Linked DNA regions of Homo sapiens: region 2 is linked to region 1. The links are contacts of gene promoters, found by promoter capture Hi-C in human tissues and cell types (Jung and others, 2019). All regions are on one chromosome and are shown on one strand. Each heading gives the region's core, a stretch centred on a gene start or on the middle of the fragment in contact. The rest is flanking DNA. Distances are from core to core; before and after follow the strand shown. Region 1 holds the start of ACTRT2 (actin related protein T2). Region 2 has its middle 54 kb from the start of ACTRT2.

Region 1 (6,136 bases), core at 2,296-4,795:
CACCTCCCTCCACCCCCCACCCCACCCCACCGCCCCCAGCAGCAGCAGTGAGGCTGAGCCAGGTGGTGTGAGCCAGTCTCATCGCCACCACTTCAGCCTGAACCTTAGGGTCAGTGGGCTCCCTGCAGGGATGTGAACCCCCAGCATTCACGCGGTGGGAAAAGGTGATGGGATAAGCCCAAAGAAATCCACTCCGAGACGCATCAAAATTAAACTTCTGAAATCTAGAGACAGTGAAAACTCTGAAGCAGCCACAGAGACCTGACCCATGACCTGGGGAGCCCAGCGAATAACAGAGGATGCCTGATCGAAACCAGGCGGCTGGAGAGCCCGAGAGCTGAAAGGAAACGGTGACCTGCAGATTCCACTGCAGTGGACACAGCCTTCAGGGATGAGGGAGAAATTAAGTCACCTCAGTTGAAGGAAGGCAAAGATTCTGTTGCCAGTGTCCTATCTTTGCAGAATGGCTGCAGGAAGCTCTCTAAACACAGGAGGAATAACAGCACAATGAGTCTTGGGCTTCAGACAGGACAAAAGAACACCAGATTGGGTAAAAATAGGGGTCAATAGATTCGACTTGACGAGCTTCTTAAATCATATTTGATGGTTGAAGGAAAAATCTCAGCCCCCCTGATGTTGCATTCAGTGCACACACAGCAGACAAGACAACTGTGTTTTAGAGGTGAGGGGGAAGGGTCCCGGACAGAAGAAGGTTTCACGTTTCCCTCTAATGGTACCATGTCAATGCCCGTAGCTTGTGACATCATATACATCCCGGCATATACGGCGTAATACCCAGGGTGACCACTAAGAAACCTACAAAAACGAGGTACTCTAAACACGCTAAATAAATCAAGACACAATCCTGAAACATGTTCCAGTAACCCAGAGGGAGGTAAGAAAAGAGAAACAGGAATGAGAAGCAGAAGACACAGCAGAGAGTGATCAGATGGCAGACTTGAGATTCCGTGTATCAATGAGTTACCAGGTAAATGGACTAAATACACCAACTGAAAGGCAGAGATTGGTAGGGTGGATAAGAAAACGACCCAGCTATACGCCGTCTTCACACCAGCCCCATGCTCACTTCCAACAGCATAGGTCGGTTGAAAGTGAAATGGTGGAAAAAGATGCACTTTGTGAAGATTGAAAGACACACGCATTTCAGGTAAATGGGTTTATTTCATTCAGGCTGAATTTCCTGAGTACTTTTTTCTCCTTTCTTCTTTCCGCCTGCATTGCGTCTCCCTCCCTCTTCCCTTGGCGACATGCTGGAACCCACAGTGCATGCACTTGGTAACCACATAGAACACAGGTATGGGTCCACACGAAGCAGCGGACATAGGCAAAGACATGGGGAAGGGGCGCTGTTTTCTTTTCCAAAAAACCAAGGGAAGGACCATGGCGTAAAGAGTTATCTGTATTTTCCACTTCTCTCCCAATAATATTTTGGGTTAATTCCACCACATCAATGTGGAAAAATTCCCTCCATGCATAATTTACTCAACCGTTAACATTGGTGATGGCCATTAACTTTGTTTCCAGCATTCTGCCCCCAAACAATGATGCTATAAACATCACTGAAAGTAAAAACAAACAGAAGAATCACACTTGCTAAGCAGAAGTGTTGATTCTTTGTACTTCCTTTGGGAGCAGGACCCCTGAGTTTAGAGGGCCCTAAACAAACGGTGACTTCTGTTCCCGTCTGTTCCTATCTGCTGAGAGCGGCAGCTCCACCCTGTTCAGCCGCCCGGCCTCACACAAGCAGAGCCCCGGCCCTGGCATGCTAGGTAGGGCCCACACAGGGAGGGGTTTCTTGCTGAGCCGTCAGAACCTGGTGCACGCGCTAGTCCCCACCATCCCTGCCGACTCTCTCAGCCCACCTAAGACCCTTGTTTAGAATGCGGACTCCAGCGCCCTATTCACCTGAGGCCCAGGGCCCTACTTTCATACAAACTGCAGATGGACACAGCCTGGCCTCAGCCCAGGCTTTCTTGGGAGGAAGCGAAGGGGAGCGGGTGTGGACCAAGACACTTCACAGATTCACTGTCAGGGCCAGAAATGACTCTGCCGCCCCCAAGAAGGAACTGAGCCGAGGTGGCCAGGTGTTCCGGCATTGGTCCTTTATTGAACATCCTCCCAAAGCTGGGGCTAGGGTTCACCCCCCACGGTACCCAACGAGAAGCGGCCTTCAGAAGCATCTTCTCTGCACCACGGAGGTCCCAAACTCCTTGAAGTCTGCGGCGGTGACCCACATCTGCTTGAAGCTACTCAGAGAGGTGACGATGGAGGCTCCAATCCAGGTGGAGAACCACCGGTCGGGGGGAGCCGTGATCTTGATGGGGGTGTCCTTGGAGGCCAGCTGCTCCAGCTCCTTGAGAAGCCGGTCATCCAGCCCGTGGAACAGGGTAGTGCCCCCCGACAGCACAATCTCCCCAAAGAGGATCTTCTGGATGTCGGTATCACACTTGGTGATGCTGCTGGAGACCATATTCGAGAGCCCGGGGCTCTGGCTGCCCAGCTGCTGGGGCACGAACAGGGCCTCGGGCGCCTGGTGCAGCGGGTCCCCGAGGCTGATGATGTTCCCGTCGGGCAGCTTGTACTCCCTCAGGACCTCCTCCGGCCTCCGGGAAAGCTCCTTCTCGGGCTCCAAGGCCACGTAGCACAGCTTCTTTTTGATGTCGTCCACGAGACCCTTGTCCAGCTGGCAGGGGAAGGTGTGGCCGCTGGCCAGGAGCAGCTGCATGAGGAGCTCCGTGATGTCCCTGCCCGCCACGTGGAGCTTGGTGACTGCGTGGGGCAGGGAGTAACCCTCAAAGATGGGGACAGTGCAGGTGACCGCATCCCCGCTGTCCACCACCAGGCCCGTGACACAGGCAGAGGCGTAGAGAGCCAGCACCGCCTGGTCCGACAGGTAGAAAGCGGGCACGCCGAAGTTCTCGAACATGACTTCTGCCATCTTCTCACGGTTCTCCCTGGGGTTCAGGGAGGGCTCCGTTGCAAGCAGGGGCTGGTCGCTGGGTTTCACGCCTAGCTCCCACTCAAAGAGGTGCTTCCAGAGTCTCTCCACGTCATCCCACCCTGTGATCAGGCCACGCTCGAAAGGGGAGTGCAGCTGCAGGGCCTCCTGCTTGTACAGGGCCTCCTCCCCCACAAAGTACTTCTTCTGGTTGGCCTCTGCTGAGGGAGCCTGGAATTTCAGGTGCCCCACGATGGAGCTGACCATGTGCCGGGGTCCAAACTCCCCAGACAGGCCCGCTTTGCAGAACCCCGAGCCATTGTCAAAAATCACAGCCGGGGAGTCTAAAGCGTGCGGATTAAACATGCCCGCAGCCTTCCCTTCTCAGCCTCATCAAAATAAAGACCAGCCCTCCAGGGCCGCTTTGTGATGCAATAGGGGATCCCACAGCTCTTCCCACAGCTCTCGGGGTGTCTCAAGGCAGGGCTAGCACCGTGCCCGGGAGCCCTGCATCCTCAGCCGCAGGTCTGCTCTCCCTCCAGGTGGCCTGGGCCTGCTGAGGCCTCTTCCAGGGGGCCAGGGGGTTGTCTCCTAGGTAACAATCTAGCCAAGGCAACGATTGTCCTGAGCCTCAGAGGCCCTGGGGGTGGGGCTCTGAGTCCCCCATCCCCCACAGGGTGAGGTGAGAGAGAGAGAGAGAGACAAGTGCATCCTAGGGCGGTGCTGGACAAGCCTGTGGGCTGAGGCAGAGACTTAGCTTTAGAGTGGAGAGAAGCAGCCCAGCCTGCGTGCACCCTAGAAAACCAGCTTCTCTGGCCCCTGAGCTGCAACTTCTGGGGTGACAACACTTCCCTTTGCTAAGGGGGAAAACCAAGCACCAGGTCGGAGGGGTGTTGTAAGCAGTTCTGTCCCAGCAGGCACTTAGAATGTGCTTTTGAATAGTGATTCCCCCAGGAAGCTCTCAGGGATTTCTCCTCCCTCCATCCCATTAGTCCTGGCTGTCTGTCCCACTGGGTAGACCCTATTCAAAGCCCTCTGGGCTGCTGGCCCTTTGTCCAGGAATACATCTCTGCTCTGGCTTGAGGCCAGCACCCCTCATTCCTCTCTGCAGACTCTGAAGTGCCAGCACACAACAAAGTCCAGCAGCCATAGAGTTGGGAACCCAACAGCCCTGAAGATATGGCCTGCTGGTTTCACATGGGTAGCCTGGATTGCAGCCTGTGACACCTCTCTGTGTCTATGAGCTGCCACACAGTCAGGCCACAACCACAGAGCAATGCTCAGAGGTGACCAGGCCATTAAAGGTCAAGGCCTGAGCATGACCAGGAAGGAGGCACCGGGCCAGGCCAAGGGCACCCACAACAGTGCACGCCCGGCACTCAGACCCCCGCTTTGTCTTCCGCTTGGGGAGAAAGTGGGAGGGGATCCAACCTGGGAACCAGCTTCACTTTTTTCCTAAGGAGGTTGGAGGTGGCCTTGGAGAATGTGAGGTTTATTCTACCTCTCCTGTCATATCCACAATCATGCTCCAGCCCAGCTTGGCCCCCCAGAGTTCTCCCAGAGGACGCCTCCCGGGGTCACTCCCTTCCTGGAGCCCCTCAGCTCCTGCTGGTGGCCCCCTCTGTGTGTCCTGCCTGCCCTGCTGACCCACCAGCAGGCATTAATCCGATGGTGGTGTAGACACATGTTGTAGATGGGCAGTCTAGACACGTGGTACAGACATGTGGTGTAGACACGAGGTACAGACGCATATGGATGTGCCGTGTAGATGCATGGGATAGATGGGTGGTGTAGACACGCGCGGTACACTCGTTGTTGATGTGTGGTGTAGATGTGTCTTGTTGACACGTGGTTTTGTGGGCCCCACTAATCCCTGGGTGGTAGTCAACAAAAACTTGATTATTGAAGGATTTTCCTAGAGGGGACCCCCCCAGAGGGAAACTGAGTCAAAAGCGTGCCAGGGCAGGTGTGGCTCTTAAATCTCCATTTCTCTGGAAACTGTGGCAGCCACCACACAGCTTGCTTGCAGTCGTCTCAGAGACCCCGGGCTCCCTGAGGCAGTAGGTGTGGACGGAGGCACTGACCCATGGGCACGGCCTAGGGCCCTGAGGCCTCCTTCGAAACCTGTTGACCCAGACGCTGGAGCTCCTCCCTGCCCACATCAAGGTCACCCCGCAGGTCCTGCTGAAGGTCACCTGAGGCCTGTGCTGGGGGACACGGAGAGTGTCCCGGGGCAGGGGCAGGCACCATCCCGACCCTGCTCCTGTTCGATAGCAGGCACGGGCAGAGGGTGCCCCCCTTGAACGCCATCTTCCAGGGGCAGGCGCCATCCCAACCCCGCTCCTGTTCGATAGCGTGCACGGGCAAATGGTGCCCCCCTCGAAGGTCATCTTCCAGGCAGGTCCCAGGCTGCGAGGTGACTCATCCTCCAATGCCTTTCTGGCTGTCCCATGCAGCCACATTCACAACAGAAGGACCACCCTGCGCGGGAAGGGTTCCCTCCTCGCTGAACTAGGAGACCACAGGCGCCAGTCCTGGGAAATACAAGTGGGCCCATCCCTGCTGACCTGCACAACCTGGGGTCCTGGCAGAGGTGTGGCTGTCCACAAGGCTGGCCCTTTGAAGCCCTGGGACAGGATCTGGGAGGCTCTCTCCTGGCTCTGCAGAGGGGCAAGGTCCCTCTCAGTCACATGCCCTGCTGAGCACTGGCTCAACATCAGCCGATGCTACCAGAGATGGCCCCAGATGGGCACCAGGTTTACCCAGGAGGGCGAGAGAGTGCCGCTCAGGGATGGTACGTGCCCCCCCGGCTGAGCCCTCTCTGCCCACAGCCCCCGGCTAAGCCCTGTCTACCTTGTAGAGATGGCCTTGGCCTGGGAAGGGCCCGCAAGGCTGGGACGACTAAGCCTGCTGTGTTGTCTCCCAGACCCCGGCTCTGCACAGTCCAGGTCCACCACCAACCTGTGGGGATTGCTAAGGTTTCGAGTCTCACATTTTGGGGAGAGCATTCCCTGGCTGGCTGCTGCGCCTTGGGGTTCCAGCCTGCAGCCATCACAGAGGGTCTGCATCCTTGGTTCTCAGGTGTGGCTGGAAGTGCGTCAGTGTCGCCCAATACTCGGGGCTGAGCTGAGAGGAACGTGCTCCGATGCTTTCTAGATTTTGGCTCTGCCGGTGGCC
Region 2 (6,136 bases), core at 2,349-4,848, 54 kb after region 1:
CCACGCCCAGCACAGGGCGAGTGCTCAGCACGCTTTGGCCAGGTCACCCAATGGCCGGCCACAGGGTCAGTCTGAAGACTGCAGGCTGCGTCTCTGCCAGCCCCGTTTCTGCCCAGACTCCAGGCAGGAGAACACAGGTGCCCGCCCAGCCACTGCAGAGAAGGGGCCAAGGACAGGGAAGGGTAAAGTGGGCCCCCAGGTCTCAGCCCCCAGAAAGGCCATTTGCAGATGCCCCCGCTCTGTCCTGCCCTCATCCCCATCACCCCCCCTCCCACGCCAAAGGGGTTTATAAGGAACTGTTCGGCGCACCAGAGAAAACACCGCCGTCATTAAGGGATTTAACGACAGCTCTGCCCGATTCAGGGGATTTGCTCTGTCCCTCATTCCACAGTAACAAGCATTTCTCGGGGACGCAGCCCCGCGCCCAGGGCCGCCCTCCTGTGCTGTGTGTTACTTTCATTAGAAGGCGTTTTATGAAGCCACCGATCACAGACGCATGTCTAACCCACGGCCACAGCAGCTGCTGCTCACAGGGCCTGGTGTCCTGCGCTGGGTGGCCGGTGGTGCGCCGGCAGGCCAGTCCGCCATCCCAGTGCACAGAGAGGCGTCTATTATAACGGCTGTCTCTGCAGCCGGAGCCCCTCCCTGACACCCTCAGCCAGAGGGCGGGGGCCTGGCACCAGGCACTGAAAGTCAGGGCACCTGTTCACACCGCTGTGGCGACCGAGCTCAGCCAGGGCCTCCTCTTTCTGGGCCTCGGATTCCTCATTTTGGCAGACAGATGCCTTTCACCTTATGTTAGCAGCGGGGCTCTTTCCCCACAAACCACTAAACCACTAAACCAAAGTAGAAAAGGCAGAGACGAAGCTGATTCTGTTGGCGCGAAACGGCCATCCCGTGCCTCACTCCACTCCCACCCCCAGGAGGCCCCTGGGACACCCCAAATTCCTGAGAGTCTTTGGAACCGTGTCTTGGCTGTGGCCTGGGACTCCCCCCAGCTCGGTGCCTTGAGCCCCTAATGGTGAGTGTGGCTGAGGGGACAACAGCCCTGCCCCAGGAGTCAGCCTGGGTCACCTGGGTTGCACCACCTACGGTCAAGGGACCCGTCAGGCCAGGCCCAGGCCCAGGCCCAGGTGTCCCACAGGAAGAGTGGCTCTCTCTGAAGTTGAGACACAGGACTCTGGAGAGGCACACACCCCTCCCCAAGGTGTCTGCTGAGTCCCCAGCCCCAAGCAACCTTCCCGGCCATCTGAGTCCCTGCTTGGCCCTGCCAGGGACACTCTCCCAGCAGATATGGTGTGTATAAGATGAGGAAGGCAGGAACTAGTCCCCCCAGAGGAAACTTCCGGATAAGCAAGATTTGCAGCTGGAAGGCCCAGGGTGAAGCAGGCACTGGTGGCTGGGGAGGCTCTGTCCCTCTGGTTCTCAGGCCCTAGCCACAGACCTTCCTCCATCCATCCAGACCGGCCACCCTAGGCCAGGACCGCAGCAGCCTCCCCAGGTGCCACCCAGACCGCAGGGTCCCGTGAGCCCCTTCTTCACCATGCCTGGGAGGGGCAGAGAGGGGTGGTCTCAGGCTCCCCATACCCAGCCCTGTGCAGGGCTCTAAAGCTCTGTCTGTAAACAGTTGCGGCTCTGCCCCCTTGATCAGCAAAGCAGCTCAAAGGAATCACAGCCACAGCCCAGGGGAGGGGAAGGGGAGTGGAAAGGAGGCAGGAGGCTGGTGGGCCTCGGGAACATGGACACGCAGGCAGAAGGGGCACCCACAGCTTCTCTGAGGTCACTTCGGTCCTGCCCTGCTTTCCCAGATGAACGCTCACGAGACTGGGGCCTGGCGAGGCCTGGGAGAGTGCAGCAGAGAGGAGTCGGCAGCTCCGCAGCTGGGCCAAGCGCACCCTGCCCCCCAGAACAGCCCATGAATAAGTCAATAACAAGCCCTGCGATCCGGCTCTGCCCTCGCTCGGGCTGGGCCAGGGCGGCGATTGCGTCCACAATACCGTGCATTCATTACGCTCCTTAAAAACAGTGTTGTGTGTCTGGAGAACAGGAAGTGGCCGTAAGTCCCCCGTGTAAAAGCCATCTGAAGCCACGGACCAGGTATGTTCTCAATCAGGAAGCAGGCAGTAAATAAACATTTACGTCCCGCAGCCGCGCACCCGCCGGCCCCCAGGCTGCAGAGGGGCACAGAGAGCGGAAATTTGTTTAGTCCTATAAAAGCACAGGCCGTATATCAATAGATGATTAAACATGGAAATGTTGCTGGCTAATGGATGGTATTGATTTTAATAAGCGTTAAGTACATGGGGTTCAAAGATAAGAACCACACGGCCATCTCTTCGTGCTCAGAGAAAGTGGCTCCTGCCAAGAAAAAAAAACAAAAAACCTCTTTTCCAAATGGAAACTTTCACCCGTCTTATTGGGGGAGTGGTTTCCAAATCAGCATTCATTTCAGAGGACAGAGTGTGACCCGAGTGATATATTCACTGACTCCGGTGATGAGGTGGGCACACCGCCCTGGAAACAGTAGCAGCATGGGTTTGGGAGCCTCCTGTGTCCACCAGCCCTGCATGGGTGCCACGGGTGTGGCCAGTGTCCACTCGCCCCATGCAGTGTTGATGCGTCCAAGGCCAGGGATGCTTCACCTTGTGCCACTCCCTGCTCAGGGAATCACCGATTCTGGGGATTTCAGGCTGCTCAAACCCAACCGCACTCAACCGAACTGAGCTTTTTTTATTTTTTGAGACAAGATTTCACTTCATCCTCCATGCTGGAGTGCAGTGACACAGTCACAGCTCACTGCAGCCTCCACCTCCCCAGGCTCAGGTGATCCTCCCACCTCAGCCTCCCGAGTAGCTGGGACTGCTTTCACCCGAAATGGGAGAGCAGGCTGGACTCTCGGGAGGCTCTGTAACTTGACCTTGCTCTTCCACTGAGTTCAGTGGATGTCTGGGCTCCTTTTAGGCAGGAGAGGGCAGGAGACTGAGCTGACCATGCCCTGGGTCAGTGCACAGGGCCCGAGAACAAGGCTGCAGCTCCCATATCCAGAGACAGTCACCCTGTGCAGCCGCTGGCCGGACGCAGGTCCCGTGCTCCAGCCTCAGTCACTCGGCTGGTGGGGGGTGCGACCGCTTGGGGAGCATGGTGCGAGCCCCCGTGCCATGTGTCTGTTACAGCCTGGGTGGGAGAGGCTGGGGCTCCCTGGGCGTCCAGCACCCGAGGGCCCCGCTGCCCCATGGATACAGCTGGACTTGCCCCAAGCGCCACTCAAGGCTTCCCTGGCTCCCCACGAGGAAGGCCACTTGCTTGGTTTGTTAACTCAGCATTCTTCTCACCGTCCTCCAGGGCTCCTTGCCTCCCAGAGCCCACGGTACACTGGGCCCTGAGAAGTGGGACCAATGAGCTCCAATTTCACCCAGAACGTGTTTGGTTGGGAGCGCCAGGTCCTCCCAGGGAAGATGCTTCTGGGCGGCAGAGGCAGCAGCACCTCTGTGACAATGACACAGTGTGTCTGCCCATCCGCTCGGCTCTGAACCCAGCCACGACCAGGCACCGGCTGCCAAGGCAGCACCCCACCCCCCAACTCCCCAGTGCCTGACCCGGCTGGGAAAGGCCCTCACCACGCTGCATTCTAACCATTACAGACGGTCACTGGGAATTTTCTGATAAATTATTTTGTCTAGCCTGCTTTCCAGGCCAACCTCTTTGGCCTCCACAGCTCTTATAAATCATTTCCCATTGAGTGGGAAACTGAATTCTACCCAAGTCTCAGCTACAAAGTGGGTGGAGTTTCTTTGTTTAGAGATTTCTCATTTTTATAGGCGATAAAGGAGACCCCACCCTCATCAGGGCTGCACCAGCTGGTCAGGACGCGTGGCAGCCAGCTTGGAGACCTCCCTGGCTGGGTCAGAACGCGTGGCGGCCGGCTTGGAGGCCTCCCTGGCTGTGAGCTGTGAGAGTGGAAGCCACAGGGCTCAAGATGGATAATGGGCTGGAGGGAGAGCCATGGTTGTTTTGCAAAAAATGAAGTAACCAGCTGTACATTCTAAAGTGACTACTGTGCGTGCCAGGTCAGGTGCCGGGCTCCCCCCCAGAGCTGTGGTTCAGGCCTAAGGTGGGATGGGCAGTGAACGAAAATGCCAGCCTTGCCCTGAAGCTGCTGTGTCCTGGGCATGCAGCAAGGATCGTGCCAGCCAGGAGCCCTGCGGCTGCGAGACAGAGAGGTGGGCCCAGCTGGGGGTGAAGTGCTGGCCTCCTGGGCTACCCTAACAGTTAGCATAAATGGAGCGCTAAACTTCTCCACACAATAGAATTTTATTCTTTCACAGTTCTGGAGGCCAAAAGTACACAACCAAGGTGTGAGCAGGGCTGTGGTCCCTCCAGAGCCCTTAGGGGAGGACGCTTCTCCTCTTCCAGCTTCTGTGGCTCCAGCAATGCTTGACTTGTAGACGCATGGCTCCAATTTCTGCCTCCTCTTCACAGAGCCTCTCCTCTGTGTCTCCTCTGTGTGTCTGAATTTTCCTCTTCTTTTAAGGACACCAGTCATTAGGTTTGGGATCCACCCTCATCCAGTGTGACCTCATCTTCACTTGATCACATCAACAAAGACGCAATTTCCAAATAAGGTCACATTCGCAGGCTCCAGTGGACATGAATCTTGAGGTGCCCTGTTCCACCCAGCACAGACGATCCATAAAATCTCCCAAGGAGCATCTCCCAACACCCTGCACTCCCTGGAGGTGCTGGGTCTGTCCTTCCATGGAGACTTCGAGCACAAGGCACTATCATGATGTGTTGTGAACATGAGACTCCACTCTGCTTTCCAGGGCCCATCCTGGCTGTGGCCCTTTCCAAGGCCCCAACCCCAGGGGCAAGCTTAGTCCAGCCTTGGGAGTTTCACCCTTCAAATGTCATTTTACTTGTCAACTACAGGTCTTGGCTTAACTTCCCCCTCTCAGAAAGTCCTCTTCCCATTGCAACCTCCAGGACAACTTATTTTCTTGACTTTTTCCCTCATGGTTTGTAATGATAGATTAAGCTTTCCCTGTTCCCACAAGACGGTAGACTCCACAAAGGCACAGACTTGTCTGTTCACCACCATATCTCTGAACAGACAGAGTACTTAGCAAATGGCCACTTGGGAAATAGTCATTGAATGAATGTGTGGAAAGATGGGTGGGTGGGTGGATGAATGAATGGATGAATGGATGGATAGATGAGTAGTAGATGATAAGAAGGATGGATGGTGGTTGGATGGATGGATGAGTGGATGGATGGATGGATGGATGAATAGATGAGTAGTATTTTGTAAGATGGATGGTGGTGGGTGGATGGATGAGTGAATGAATGGGTGGATAGGTGAGTAGCAGATGGTAAGATGGATGGATGGTGGGTGGATGGATGGATGGATGGATAGATGAGTAGTAGATGGTAAGATGGATGGATGGTGGGTGGATGGATGGATGAGTGGATGGATGGATGGATGGGTGGATGGATAGAAGAGTAGTAGTTGTAAGATGGATGGATGGTGGGTGGAAGGATGGATGAGTGGATGGATGGATGGATGGATAGATGAATAGTAGTAAGATGGATGGATGGTGGGTGGATGGACGGATGAGTGGATGGATGGATGGATGAGTAGTAGATGGTAGTATGGATGGATTTGGATGAATAGATGAGTAGAGGGATGGTAGGATGGATGGATGAATTGTGATGAATGGGTAGGTGGATAGATAAATGGATAGACGGAAAGACGAGTATGTGGGTGAGTGAATAGATGGACGGGGAATAGAAAGATTGATGAGTGGTTGGAAAGACTGATTGGTAATTGGGTGGATACATGGAAGAGTGGATGGATGGATGGATGGATGGATGGATGGATGGTTGGATAGACAGTAGGACAGATGTAGGTGTATAGTGGGTGGATGGATGGATGCACGGATGAATGGTAGGATGAATAGATAGATGAATGCATGGATGGGTGAATGGATGAATGAATTGTGAGTAGATAGAAAAATAGATGGGTTGGTAGAGAGATGGATGACTGAAAAGATGAGTGTGTGGATGGATGGATGGATGGGAAGATGGATGGATGGATGGATGGATGGATGGATGGATGGGTGGATGGATGGGAAGAGTG

Evidence for each region. The method cuts DNA at HindIII sites, captures the fragments that hold promoters and counts their contacts. A contact is called where the count stands out against the background at its distance.
Region 2: a fragment that was not itself captured here is called in contact with the fragment with the promoter of ACTRT2 in region 1 in 4 of the 25 tissues and cell types used here (hippocampus, mesendoderm cells, pancreas and 1 more).

Annotation. Positions count from the first base shown.
Region 1 is chr1:3,018,876-3,025,011 of GRCh38, reverse strand. ACTRT2 (actin related protein T2) reads right to left here and starts at 3,545. Exons shown (of 1, transcript NM_080431.5): 1 at 2,109-3,545. The coding sequence starts at 3,325. The coding sequence ends at 2,192. RefSeq lists an enhancer at 494-663. The HindIII fragment of the contact is 18,700 bases long and covers 1-6,136 here.
Region 2 is chr1:2,964,524-2,970,659 of GRCh38, reverse strand. No RefSeq gene overlaps it. Among named protein-coding and RNA genes, the nearest start is that of ACTRT2, 54 kb to the left of the region's middle. The HindIII fragment of the contact is 6,143 bases long and covers 527-6,136 here.